Linked DNA regions of Homo sapiens: region 1 is linked to region 2. Evidence: promoter capture Hi-C in human tissues and cell types (Jung and others, 2019). All regions are on one chromosome and are shown on one strand. Each heading gives the region's core, a stretch centred on a gene start or on the middle of the fragment in contact. The rest is flanking DNA. Distances are from core to core; before and after follow the strand shown.

Region 1 (5,707 bases), core at 2,558-5,057, 220 kb before region 2:
TTTGGGCTCATCTTATCTTGCAGATAGAATAAATAATTTATCAAAGCGGCAGAATTTTAATACTTTGGGTGAATGCTTTCCAGCATATTCCTTTTCTTATGTTTTGGTTTTACTTTTTTATCAAAATACAACATATATACAGGAGAGTGCATATGTCCTAAGTGTAGATAGCTCAATACGTTTTCATAAGCTGAACAACTGATGTAATCAGAAAGAACCGAAATCAATAGCTGTCTGTTTTTAAGATTGCCGATAGTCTCATTCCATGCTAACCCTAGTTTCATTTGGGAAATGTTTTGTCTGATTTAGAGTCCAGCACCATGCAGTGGACTTACACTGCACATGTGCTGGCATTCTTTCCATAGACTCTCACTTAGGAATCAGTTGGTGCATCTCAGGACCACCTCTGCACAAGAAGACCAGTTGTCTTCTCTTGCAACTCTTCCCTGCTGGTGTTTGCAATGTTCTCAGTGACTCTGTGTTCCCTTGTCACTAATCTTTTCATGTCAGTGCCTAGCTCTGTTTCAGCATTCCCTGTGGAGTTGATGTTGTCTGCCAGTATGTGTGGGCTTATGAGAAAGCTTTTAGCTCTTAAAAGTATGTGTCACTTTGAGCATCTGATGCATCTTCAATCTAGTTTATAACCTTATGCTAAGTAACTGGCCTTTGTGGGGAAGGCCTGTTTTGTTGGTTAAGGCATCCTTCTTCTGTTCTGTTCCATGTAATTTGCTACTGTGCCTGTTTTTCCATCCCGTGCAGTGAATTCCTTTTCTTTTGATTCTTTACATATGTTTATATTTGTATGTGGGTTAAGATACCTTTGATCCTATTACATTCAAGCTTTGTTAAAAAACAAAAAACTTCTGTCTCTTTAAGATGGCTTTTGTGGATCCTTAGTTCCTATGGATTAATTATATGTTTACTTTATAATTTAATAATCAGCAGGCAGTGTCTATTTTCAATTTGCTTTACGATAATACATCTCAGGTACCGATGAATATTTCATTTCATTAAATGAAGCATATAAATTCTTCAGAGCATTTTTCCTGTTATTACACTCTCAAAGGAATTTACCACTTGGGACCATATTTCGGGGCCATTGAGCAATGCAGTATATGATGTCAACTGTGGTTGTCTTTTTTTTTTTTTTTTTTTTTGAGATGGAGTCTTGCTCTGTTGCCCAGGCTGGAGTGCAGTGGTGCAATCTCGGCTCACTGCAAGCTCTGCCTCCTGGGTCCATGCCATTCTCCTGCCTCAGCCTCCCGAGTAGCTGGGACTACAGGCGCCCGCCACCACGCCCGGCTAATTTTTTTGTATTTTTAATAGAGACAGGGTTCCACCATGTTAGCCAGGATGGTCTCGATCTCCTGACCTCGTGATCCGCCTGCCTCGGCCTCCCAAAGTGCTGGCATTATAGGCATGAGCCACCGCGCCTGGCCACCTGTGGTTGTCTTATAAGTGCAGAAATTGATAAAAGCAAAAGGCACTACAAGTTGATACCACACAGCCACCTGGCCTTCAGGTAGTTCTTTCAGCCACAAGAATTCTGTCTTCTCTTCGCAGGTTTACCCTATACCTGGGGTTAGGATTGTCAATAAATATCTGGCACTCTACTTTTAAGTTGTAGCTCATCCAAGGGAAAAGCCCAGTCATCCTTATTTTCAAGTAGCTCAGTGTGCTGTCTGTTATAACTAGGTGGTCGAGTGATAAGTGCTACCCAGCAGCTGTTGATTTCCTTATAAATTGGCCATGGGTTTGCCACTTATAAGCTTTCAGTCAGTTTTCTCACACACATGGATGTGTGAGAAATACATGCTACTGCCAATGCCACCTTCTCTCCTTCCTTGGAGGTGACGACTGTCATCTTATTTGACTAAGAAGCAGTGAGAAAACAACTTCCTTGCTCCCCACCACCCCAGCTACTGGCCTGCCCGCAGATGGACTGGTAGATTTTGCCTTCTGTCCTGTTGTGGTGGATGAGTGGCCGGTGCCTCTGCCTAGTTCAGCTCTCTGTTCACTGGCTCTCATTTCCTCTTGTCTTCCGTCAGCATACAGATGGTCTTAATAAAACTACCATCCTGAAAATACAAGCAACTAAGATGACCACACACCCCTCCAGCCACTGCCCCATCCCTCTGCCTCCTTTTACAGCAGAATTCCTCAAAGGAGATGTTCATATGGACTGCCTCCACCACTCCACTCTCTCTTGGACCTTCTATGGTTAGCTTTTGTCCTCGTCAATGTGCTGAAACTGCTCTTCTTAAGGTCAGTTGTGTGTGAGGTTTAGGAGGAGAGGAAAGAAGTTTCAAGACACTGCTATACCTAAACTGTTCATTACTAGGACCCAGCATTGGCAGAAGGAGTTGTGACAAATGTACCATGTTCTTCATTGCTGTGGCAAGACCCGGCTGTGCTATGTCTTTGTTTTGTGACCTTAAACATGTTCATTAACATTGAGTTTATTTCCCCATGTGTACAGTGGGCACAGTGTGCCTTGTATCTACCTTGGAGGATGGAGAATCAAAAGAAATGAGGTTTATGAAGGTATTTGGAAGCTGGGAAGTACTGTGAAGGCCAAGATAAGCTTAAAGAAAGCAGATAGAAAAATTTAACAAAAAAACACTGCGATTTTAGCCTATAAGCCTATACTAACATTTAACAATCCTTTTCTGTGCACAGGGCTTTATACCCTTTATTCTTCACAGTAGCCCTGTGAAGGTATCTGGGGGTGGTTATTTCTATTTTGCAGATGAAGGAGCTGAGGCTAAGACGTACTAAAGGACTTGCTCTAAGTCAAACAGTCAGGGAAGCATCTAATCTGGGTTAGTCTGACTCCATAGCCCTGCCCTGAGCCACTGTTACATTGCCTTCAAACTAATTAATTAAGTTTGAAGTCAGAGAAATACTAGAATTAAATATAAGACCTAGTTCTTTGAAAATACTGCTTAAGATTAGACAGTTATCTAGCAAGCCTAATCAAGAAAAATGAGCAGAAACAAGTATTTGGCTTGAGGAATAAGCAAGTATAATAAATATGAAAATCATTATAATAACTGTATCCAGCTTTATGGCCCAGATGTAGAACCTTTCAAAGAAATGGATAGTTCTTTTAACAAAAGATAAATTGCTAAGTTGATTCTCCCACTATCTCTTAAATACTCATCTTCACCAGGTCAACTCTTCTCTTATTAAACGTAAGCTTCTTAAGCTTTCTTTTTCTTTTCTTTTCTTTTCTTTTTTTGAGATGGAGTGTCGCTTTGTCACCCAGGCTGGAGTGCAGTGGCGCAATCTCGGCTCACTGCAAGCTTCGCCTCCCAGGTTCACGCCATTCTCCTGCCTCAGCCTCTCGGATAGCTGGGACTACAGGCGCCTGCCACTGCACCCGGCTAGGTTTTTGTATTTTTAGTAGAGACGGGGTTTCACCGTGGTCTCGATCTCCTGACCTCGTGATCCGCCCACCTCAGCCTCCCAAAGTGCTGGGATTACAGGCGTGAGCCACCGCACCCAGCCCCCTAAGCTTTCTTAGAGACTGTACTTACAGTCTCAGCTTATCATCCACCATAAGTTAATGATTATCAAATCATCACATCCATATCTGTAGTATTTACCTTTCTCTGGACTTTCTTAACTACATGCTAGAGAGCTTCCAGCGTAATCACTTGACTCAAGCCCAAAGTTAGCTCTTGACTTCCCTCTAAAACCTCTCTTCCTCTTAAACTCCTTGTTTCCGTTGATGGCACCACTTCTTCCCTCATTGCACAAACTGGAAACCTGTGTCTTTTCCCTCTTTCTGTGCCTAATTCTTCCTCAAGGCCCTCTCCTTTTTACTTGCTGTATCCTTTAGACCGTGACCCTCTATTTCAACCCGATGGCTGCTGCCTCCATTCAGACTTTGCTCATTTTAACTGGCCATGGCCTCCCACCTGCCCCCTGCTCTACTTGCCCCTTCTCTCCTTAGACACCTGTTAGTGATGTCGCCTCCTGCTTAAACTCATCCTGCCTTCTTAGTTTAATGCTAAGAAGAAAGGGAATAAATGAACTAGATGCTGAACTTGAGCTGCGAGAAGAGGTAATAAGGGAAATTAGAAGGCCTAATACAGCAAAGCTGGTATAAATGAATTAGAAATAAAGCAGCAGTGGAATTGAGAAATAGACCCGGGTTGTTTTTTTAAAAAAAGAATGATTAAGAAGTTCTGGAGGTCAGTGTGCATATACCTAATACTACTGAACCATACAAACTAAAAATGGCTAAGGCGATTGCTTTTATGTGATGTGTGTTTTTTTTTTAACCACAATAAAACAAAAAGGCCCCCCCCCCACCACCATAGGAAAACAAATTCTTAAGTGATAAAAAAAAGAAGAATAAAATAGATAAGCCTGATGAGGTGACTACAGAAAGAGGGAGCAGGTGCAAGTGTCAGTTGTGAATGAGAGGCATGCGCAGAGCTCCAGAGGCCATGAGAACTTAAGAGGCAACTGTGCAGAAATCTCTGCTAAGACATTAAACTCTGAAGCAGTGAAGAAATGTCCAGAGATGATGTAGAAGAACAAGATAGAATTCTGTGATGCGTTTTCACACAGTTTCTATAGTAATCAGCACTAACTTTACTTGTACGACGTAAGCAAGGAAGAAAACTAATGCTTTTCCTATCCAAGGAAATTTATACTATTTATGTACAGCTGGTTGGGCTGTAATTATTTATTATATTAAGTAGTTATCCTTTAATATAATCATTTATGATAGTAAAGTAATTAAAGCCATAGTGAGTTAAATATTTTAAGATCGAAGAACAAATTTAACCTCCTGTTCCACACAACTATAGTTATAACTCTAGCAACTATTTTTCTATTGCAACCTTAGAAGATACATACATAGTTATAAAAATTTTAAGTAAAATATTAGCAAGCAATTAAAAGAATGATCTACCTCAATCAGAGTTTGTTTTAGAAGTACACAGATGGTTCAACTTGAAAAAATTAAATTAGTTTGTTAATAGGCCAAAGGAGAAAAATCATAGAAACATCTTAAATAAATTTCAAAAGTGCTTGATAAAGGTCAGCAAGCTCTCCTGATTTAAAGTTTCTGGTAAAAAAAAAAATAGAATAGGAAAATACTTCTTTTATATGGTGAAGTACATCAGTCTCAACCCATAGCTGACACAGAGCAGCTTTCCACTGGATGTTGATAAATGTTAGGTGAAAAAGTTTTATCATCAAAAGTTGATGAAATCTCAGTTATTAAATGAAGTATTAATGTCAGGAATAAGCAGGGGTGCCTGTTAATCAGTGGCGTTATTGAGTACTTTTTGGAAGTTTCATCTAGTATAATAAGGTGCTAAATTAATATAAATATTTTAAAAGACCTTGATAAAATTACGTGCAGATAATACAGTTACCAGCTGACTAAATGGAGACATTAATAGGGCTGTAAAGAGTTCAGTAATGTGGGCAGATAAAATATTCAGCACTAGGCAGTTGGACAAAGGATTTACCATGTGCTGGTATTTCTGCCTGACTGCTCTCCCGGTGCCATAGCCTCCCATGGTGAAATCCATAATTTCCCTCAGGTCCCCATTCACTTATTCATGGCTAAGAGCACAGACTCCAGAACCAGACTGCCTAGGTTCAGATCCTCCCTCCACTGCTTTGCTAGAGGGTAGCGTCAGGATGATTACTGCAGGTTCCTCGGGCTCATTTTCCTCATCTT
Region 2 (6,391 bases), core at 2,185-4,684:
AGTGCACTCCTTGCCCTGGGCTCCCTTGAGGGCAAGCCTGGCTGTCCACTGCCCTCCAATGTCCCCTTGGCTTTGTGCTCTGCCCACCCTCCCCAAGTACAGCTGTGTTTGACAAGAAGGTGGTGCTGAGGAGGAGGGCCGTCCAGCCCCACGGTCCCACGGGCTGCTGAGATGTGCACCGTGTAATGCTGAGTCCCACTGCAAATGATGCCCAAGCCACAGAGGTCTGCAGGGAACCTGGCAATGCTTGTGATTTCCCTATGGCCCGCTACCCCCCGGCTCCCTGCGACTCTATGCTGCAAGAAGAGTCTCCATGCTCATCCTCAGCCCTTTTGTTCCTGATTTTACAGAAATCTGTAAGATATGATGTAAAGCTTCTAACTCCCCTAAATAAGAAACAGATAGGGGTACGAGAATGAGGACCAGACCAAAGGGACAATCTTCAGTTGCAGACAAAGGAAAAGGCAGAACAGATTCTGAAAATGAGTCTGTGGGAACGACAGCAACACAGTAGACCTGGGTTAAGATCAATAAAGGGTCTGCCGTAGGTGGAGACAGTGGGATGAAGAAGGGACAGAGGGCTGGTACAGGGGCATGGGCTGGGTGGCAGGTCGGGGTGCATCTTGGCAGGGGCTTGTGTGTATCAAGGGCCCTGGCCTGTGGATGAAGGCCTCACCCAGCGTTTGGGGCAATGCCAGAGGAGATAATACTAAGGAAGACAGCCCCTTGGAGCAGAGATCTGGGACTCTAGAGTCGCTGGGCAGGCCTTGGTGGCCCTGGTCCCAGGAGGGGAGACTTCTGAAGGGGGAGACAAAGATGCCCTCCATGCTGGTTTGTGCGTCCAGCTTTTATCTTGGAGAATTCTAACTTTGACAAAAAGTAAGTGAGTTGTAGAGTACAGATTACACTTTAAACTAGATGATGTCAATATAGACTGCAAGGATGGGGGCCCTCCTAGAGTCAGGAGACGATGGTGTTAGGTTACAATGACAGCAGTAGAAATAACAAGGACCAGCACTGATTCTTTACACACCAGGCTCTTTGCTAAGTGCTCTACTCATGGTAACGCAGCTGACCCTCATGAGGACCCCATAAGTTGCATTATTGTCCCCATTTTAAGGAAGAGAAAAAGTGCTTCCAACCTTTTCATATCAAGTGCCTGTAGAGAACATGAGCATCTGTATGAAACCCTGGATCAAACAGAAAGAGCCGCTGCTTCTGGCCAGGGGCTCTGCTCACCAGGGGCCCAGGAAATCAATTTCTCTAACTCTATTTCCCAGGGCTCCTGACATCAACTGCAGGGAAATCTCTGCCCACAGTTAAAAATGCACCCACAGCCTGCAGCCTGGGCAGCTGCCCACGCGCCCATTTGTTCATGCGCCGAGGCCGGAAATAAGCCCAGGGAGACCTAATGGTCGTGGGCGGTGCCCCTCAGAGGGTCACTCTTTTATGTCTTGTAACTTCTGCTTTTTTAGTTTGGAAATGTCCTTTTTCTTACTTAGCAGAGCATGACCTACTAATCCTGTCTGTAAAGTGCAACCCCACGTGATCTGCCAGTGCCGTGACCTCACACTGCAATTGGCCATATGCAGAGAACCAAAAACAATCACAGCGTGGCTTCGGTGAGGAAGGTGCCTGGGAGCTTTCACCCCAACTCCGATAGGGCCACTGAATGCTCACTGTGATTTCCCCATGAACATGGCACCTTGTGGGATCAATTACCTGGCAGGTGAAGATCAAAGCACCTGTGTGCCTATGCATGCAGTCACCCACCCCCCACATACACGCCTATGCATATCCACACACATGTGCACACAGTCACACACATGCACATACACAGTCAAATTCCTACACACACAAGTGCGTGCACACACATACACCCCACACTGCCTACTGCAGGAAATAGCAATAAAACCCTTACCACTTCGGAAACACCCACTTAGGTTCACTTTGGCCCTGCCCCTGAAGAGCCCAGAAGTTTTGTGAATGTGCGTTAAAAAAAATTGTTTTTAATCATCAACATTATTTTAATGTTGGGAGATAGTGAGGAGGTAGTTATGATGAGTCCTTTGCTACTCATATGTAAGATGAGACTCAGAGCTAATAATCATTGTAATGATGATAATAATAGTATCAGTAATAGTAATAATGTGACAATAGCTGTAATGTACTGGAAACCTTCTGTGTGCTAGACATTGGCCTGCATTAGCCATTATTGTTCCCATTTTACAGGTGAGGAGACTGAGGCTCAGGGAAATGAAGTGATATGACTATATGCATGAGACAAATTGTCAGGATAAGACAGGCACTCAGGATCTCACTTGTAGGACCAGCATCCCTTGTACTGCCCCTCCTTGCCCAAAAGCAACCGGACCCCACAGGAGCCACTCCCAGGCCCGTACCCACCTGGAGGGAATGGAAGCCAGCCCAGCTGGCGCCGGGTCAGAGGTAGAGCCCTGACTAATCCAGCACCGCAAATATTGACATGGCGTCCCAGGCACAAGCTAGCACCTCTTGGGACCCAGTGACCAGCTGGTGCCTCTTGGGACGACACCTCCAGACTGTCAGAGGTGGGGCACTGTTCACCCTGATCTCTGGGAATGGGGGGTGCATGGTTCTCGGGAGAAGATTCCTGCTTCCCTTGTATTCCATCTGTCACCCGGTTGCTGAGACCTTGCTGAGCCAAACATCCATCCACACTGAGCACCCTCAGCTCTGGGCCAGAAGCCACAGAACACTGTGCATAACGTGATCTCAGTGTTACCACACACAGGGTGGGGGCCTGTCCTTGTGGATAAGGTTTTGATTCGTGCCTATCACCTGCTGACAAGACCCACTCTGACTCCAGGTCCTCAGCCTCGGTGGGAGTCAGACAGCTTGGAGCCGGGGAGCGGGTACAACCAGATGCCCCGGGTCCCCACCGCAGAGCATCCCAGGCCTGTACATTATTTTCTGCCTCCAAACTGCAAAGCTTTCCACGGTAGACTGGGATGATGCACCTCAGTTGCACTGAGCGTAGCCGGCCCCTCCCCAGCACCCCTGTTTCCACTTCCTGCGGGGGCTGCTGAACCTCGGCCTCATCTATGCTCCTTCCCCTGCTCGCCCCACTCACCCCTGGTCGTTTCCACACAAAGGGGATCTGCGGCCTCTCACTGTAGAACAGGGAGGAATTGCTGGCTGGGAAGTCTGCATCCTCAAACAGGGTGCCTCTCTGCAGGCACTCCTGCCTCATTTGCTCAAAGCTCTGGCCTGAGGAGTGGGTGATCCGGGCGTCCTTGGGAACCGGGTGTGCCTGAGGCCCTGGGGCCCGGTAGAGGTAAGGCATGGCTGCTCCCTGGAAGGCTGGCTTGGGTCCGGCAGTGGATGGAAAAGAAAGTGAAGAAGCGAGCTGTGTGTGCCGGTCAAGAAGGAACAGCTCAGAGGGCCACTGGGCTGAGTGGCCCTCACCTCCACCTATTTTCTGGGCACCTCCCTGTTAGACTGAGATGGGACACGCCCTGATGGAAAACAGCAGAGAGAGCCCTCTGCCCACTCTGCACTCCTGCAGACTCAGAGGCAGCTCTGGGGCCTGGCACATTCCACTCAGAGGCGGCACCTCTGCTTAGTGCGCTCAGGGGGCCTCATGGGAGAGAGAGGATTGCTTCAGAAGGAAAAGGAGCAAGAAACCCAACTGGTCCAGGAGGTGGCTTTACGGAGAAGTGCACGGTGTGGTCTTGAGTCCCATCTCCTGCATCAGAGAATGGCAGAGTTTTGTAGTCGGAAGGGAGGTTGGTGAATGAAAGCAGGATGCATTATGTGAACACAGCTGGCACAGCTCCTGCACAGGCAATCCCATAGTGATTCAGCACTGGGGTCAGCAAACCTTTTCTGTAAAGGCCCAGACCATGAATATTTTCAGCTTTGTGGGCCACGCAAAGTCTGTGCTGCAACTACTCAACTTTGCTGTTGTAGTGACAAAGCAGCCGTAGATGTGACACAGATGAATGGGTGTGGCTGTGTTCCAATAAAACTTTATTTACAAAGGCAGGTGGGGGTTAGATTTCATCCAACCTGACCCCTGATAGAGGAGAACTCACAGAGGACATCGGCTCTTCCTCTAGGGCACATGTGCCTCTTTCATTCTCTAGACATCATATTAATAAAGTTCCTTGTTGTTATAGTCCTACAAATAGGATCTCACGTCTGAGAAAAAACAAATGTTAGAGGATGGAGGTGGTTTGATAAATGTGTTTGCCCATAGAAATGATTATACAGGCTGGGTGTGGTGGCTCACACCTGTAATCCCAGCACTTTGGGAGGCCGAGGAGGGTTGATCACCCGAGGTCAGGAGATCAAGACCAGTCTGGCCAACATCATGAAACCCTGTCTCTACTAAAAATACAAAAAATTAGCCCGGTGTGGTGGCGGATGCTTGTAATCCCAGCTACTTGGGAGGCTGAGGCAGGAGAATCCCTTGAACCTGGGAGGTGGAGGTTGCAGTGAACTGAGGTCGTGCCACTGCCCTCTAGCCTGGGTGACAGAGAGAGACTCTGTCAAAAAAAAAAAAAAAAAAAAAAGAAAAAAGAGAGAGAGAGAGAAAGAAAAGAGAGAGAGAGAAGGAAAGAAGAAAAGAAATGATAAATACTGGAGGGGATAGATAGCCTAAATACCCCAACTCGATATCACACATTCTGCACATGTAACAAAATAGCACATGTACCCCATCAATACGTACAAATATTATGTATCAATAAAAATAAGTCAATAAAAGTATTAGTCACCACGTGAAAACTCTGATGTTCTAAGCACTTTATAATGATTTCTGTGTGATTCTCTAACTAGTCAAAGTTGAGGTTTGGAGACAAGGGGTCTTGAGTTAATGGGTACAGTTAAAAGGCCATGATGTGAATTTTTATATAAGCTCACAGTTCCCAGGAGTGTGCACTCAGTCTGACACACGTTCTGTCTAGTAGATCCTGCATATGGTTTTACAGGGGAGGTCTAGACATTAGAGTTGGGGATATTTGGGTTTTACTCTGCTATGGCCTGATTGCTTGTATTCCGCACCACCCCCCCGACCCCGCCAAAATTTGTATGTTGAACCCATACCCTGCAAGGTAATGGTATTAGAAAGTGGGGCCTCTAAGGGGTGATTAGGTCAGAAGAGTGGAGCCCTCATGAATGGGATTGGTGTCATTATGAAAGATTAGGTCACAGAGGGCCCCCTCCTCCCTTCCACCATGTGAGGACACAGGAACCAGAAAGTAGACCCTCACCAGGCATGGAATCTGCCAGTGCCTTGATCTTGGACTTCCAGCTTCCAGAACTGTGAGCAACACATTTCTGTTGTTTATAAGCCACCCTGTCTGTGCTGTTTTGTTATAGAAGCCTGAATGAACTAAGACAAATTCCCAGTTTTCCCTGGGGTGATCTTGGGCGAGTTATCCATGCTGTCTGTCCCTGCTTCCAAGCTGTGAATCAGGATAATCGGTGCTGCCTGCTAGAGGCATGGCGGGTTTGTGGAAGCAAAGCCACTTGCAAAGTCTGGCACATGGAGGGGATCAGGAGCTGCTGATTCCTCCCTTTCCCCTATCCTCTCTGCACCCCCTGCCACTCCCACAGATGCTGCTGAATTTCATGGTCTCCTTCTGAGCCTGACTTGCCTCAACTTGCAAGGCATCTCTTTTGTCTCTTTGTTTGCACAATGAAGGACTTTGGAACTGGGGTCCTCTGGCTGGGACCAGAGTGCAGTTCTGGCCAGTCCAAATGATTCTTGGCTAGAGATGATGGAGCTGCCCAGGAGTGTCCCATTGCCCACTGCCCTGGCAGACGGCTCTGTTTCGAAGTGATTAAGGAGGGCAACCTAGGGAGACAGGTGTGGCAATGTGAGGGCCATCCATTTCTGGTGACACCTCGGCAGGGAAATGATTACCAGCCCAGATCTCTGGGAGCATCCCCTTCAAATGCCCCAGCAACTGAGAAAGGACCTTGAAGTAAATTTCAGCACTGACCAGAACTGTAAAGGGTTTGCTCAGCACCAGACCCACTCCCAGCTTCAGGGATTTACGTTCTCATTCTCCTCCCGATACAAACACCTCTCCAGGCTGGGGTCTTGTCCTTCCACCTGGGACTTATCTATGTATTGGAAGAACCTGCCTTTTTCTTTAGAGTCTTAGTATAGTTGCTAGGTAATTGGAGAATTGCATCATCATTGTGAGTAAAACAAACATGCCTCAGAGTAGGAAACACACCAAAAAGGTTTAACAATCCTCCAGAACCACAGCTGGAATTCCTCCTGCCCCCTAACACTCTGGGACTCTGAGAATGTCTGCGGGAGGGAGTGCATTCTCAGGATTTACAGCCTCATCATTCTTCCTGCCCAATGTCTGCCCACAGAGCCCTGGGTCCATCT

Evidence for each region. The method cuts DNA at HindIII sites, captures the fragments that hold promoters and counts their contacts. A contact is called where the count stands out against the background at its distance.
Region 1: a contact is called between a fragment that was not itself captured here and the fragment with the promoter of CAPN9 in region 2, in 1 of the 25 tissues and cell types used here (stomach).

Annotation. Positions count from the first base shown.
Region 1 is chr1:230,966,796-230,972,502 of GRCh38, reverse strand. The region is part of intron 1 of TTC13 (tetratricopeptide repeat domain 13); the gene reads left to right. Among named protein-coding and RNA genes, the nearest start is that of TTC13, 9.2 kb to the left of the region's middle. The HindIII fragment of the contact is 3,259 bases long and covers 2,178-5,436 here.
Region 2 is chr1:230,744,431-230,750,821 of GRCh38, reverse strand. CAPN9 (calpain 9) reads right to left here and starts at 3,434. Exons shown (of 20, transcript NM_006615.3): 1 at 3,113-3,434. The coding sequence starts at 3,325. It also overlaps a transcript of AGT not described here. RefSeq lists an enhancer at 1-129. The HindIII fragment of the contact is 9,202 bases long and covers 1,674-6,391 here.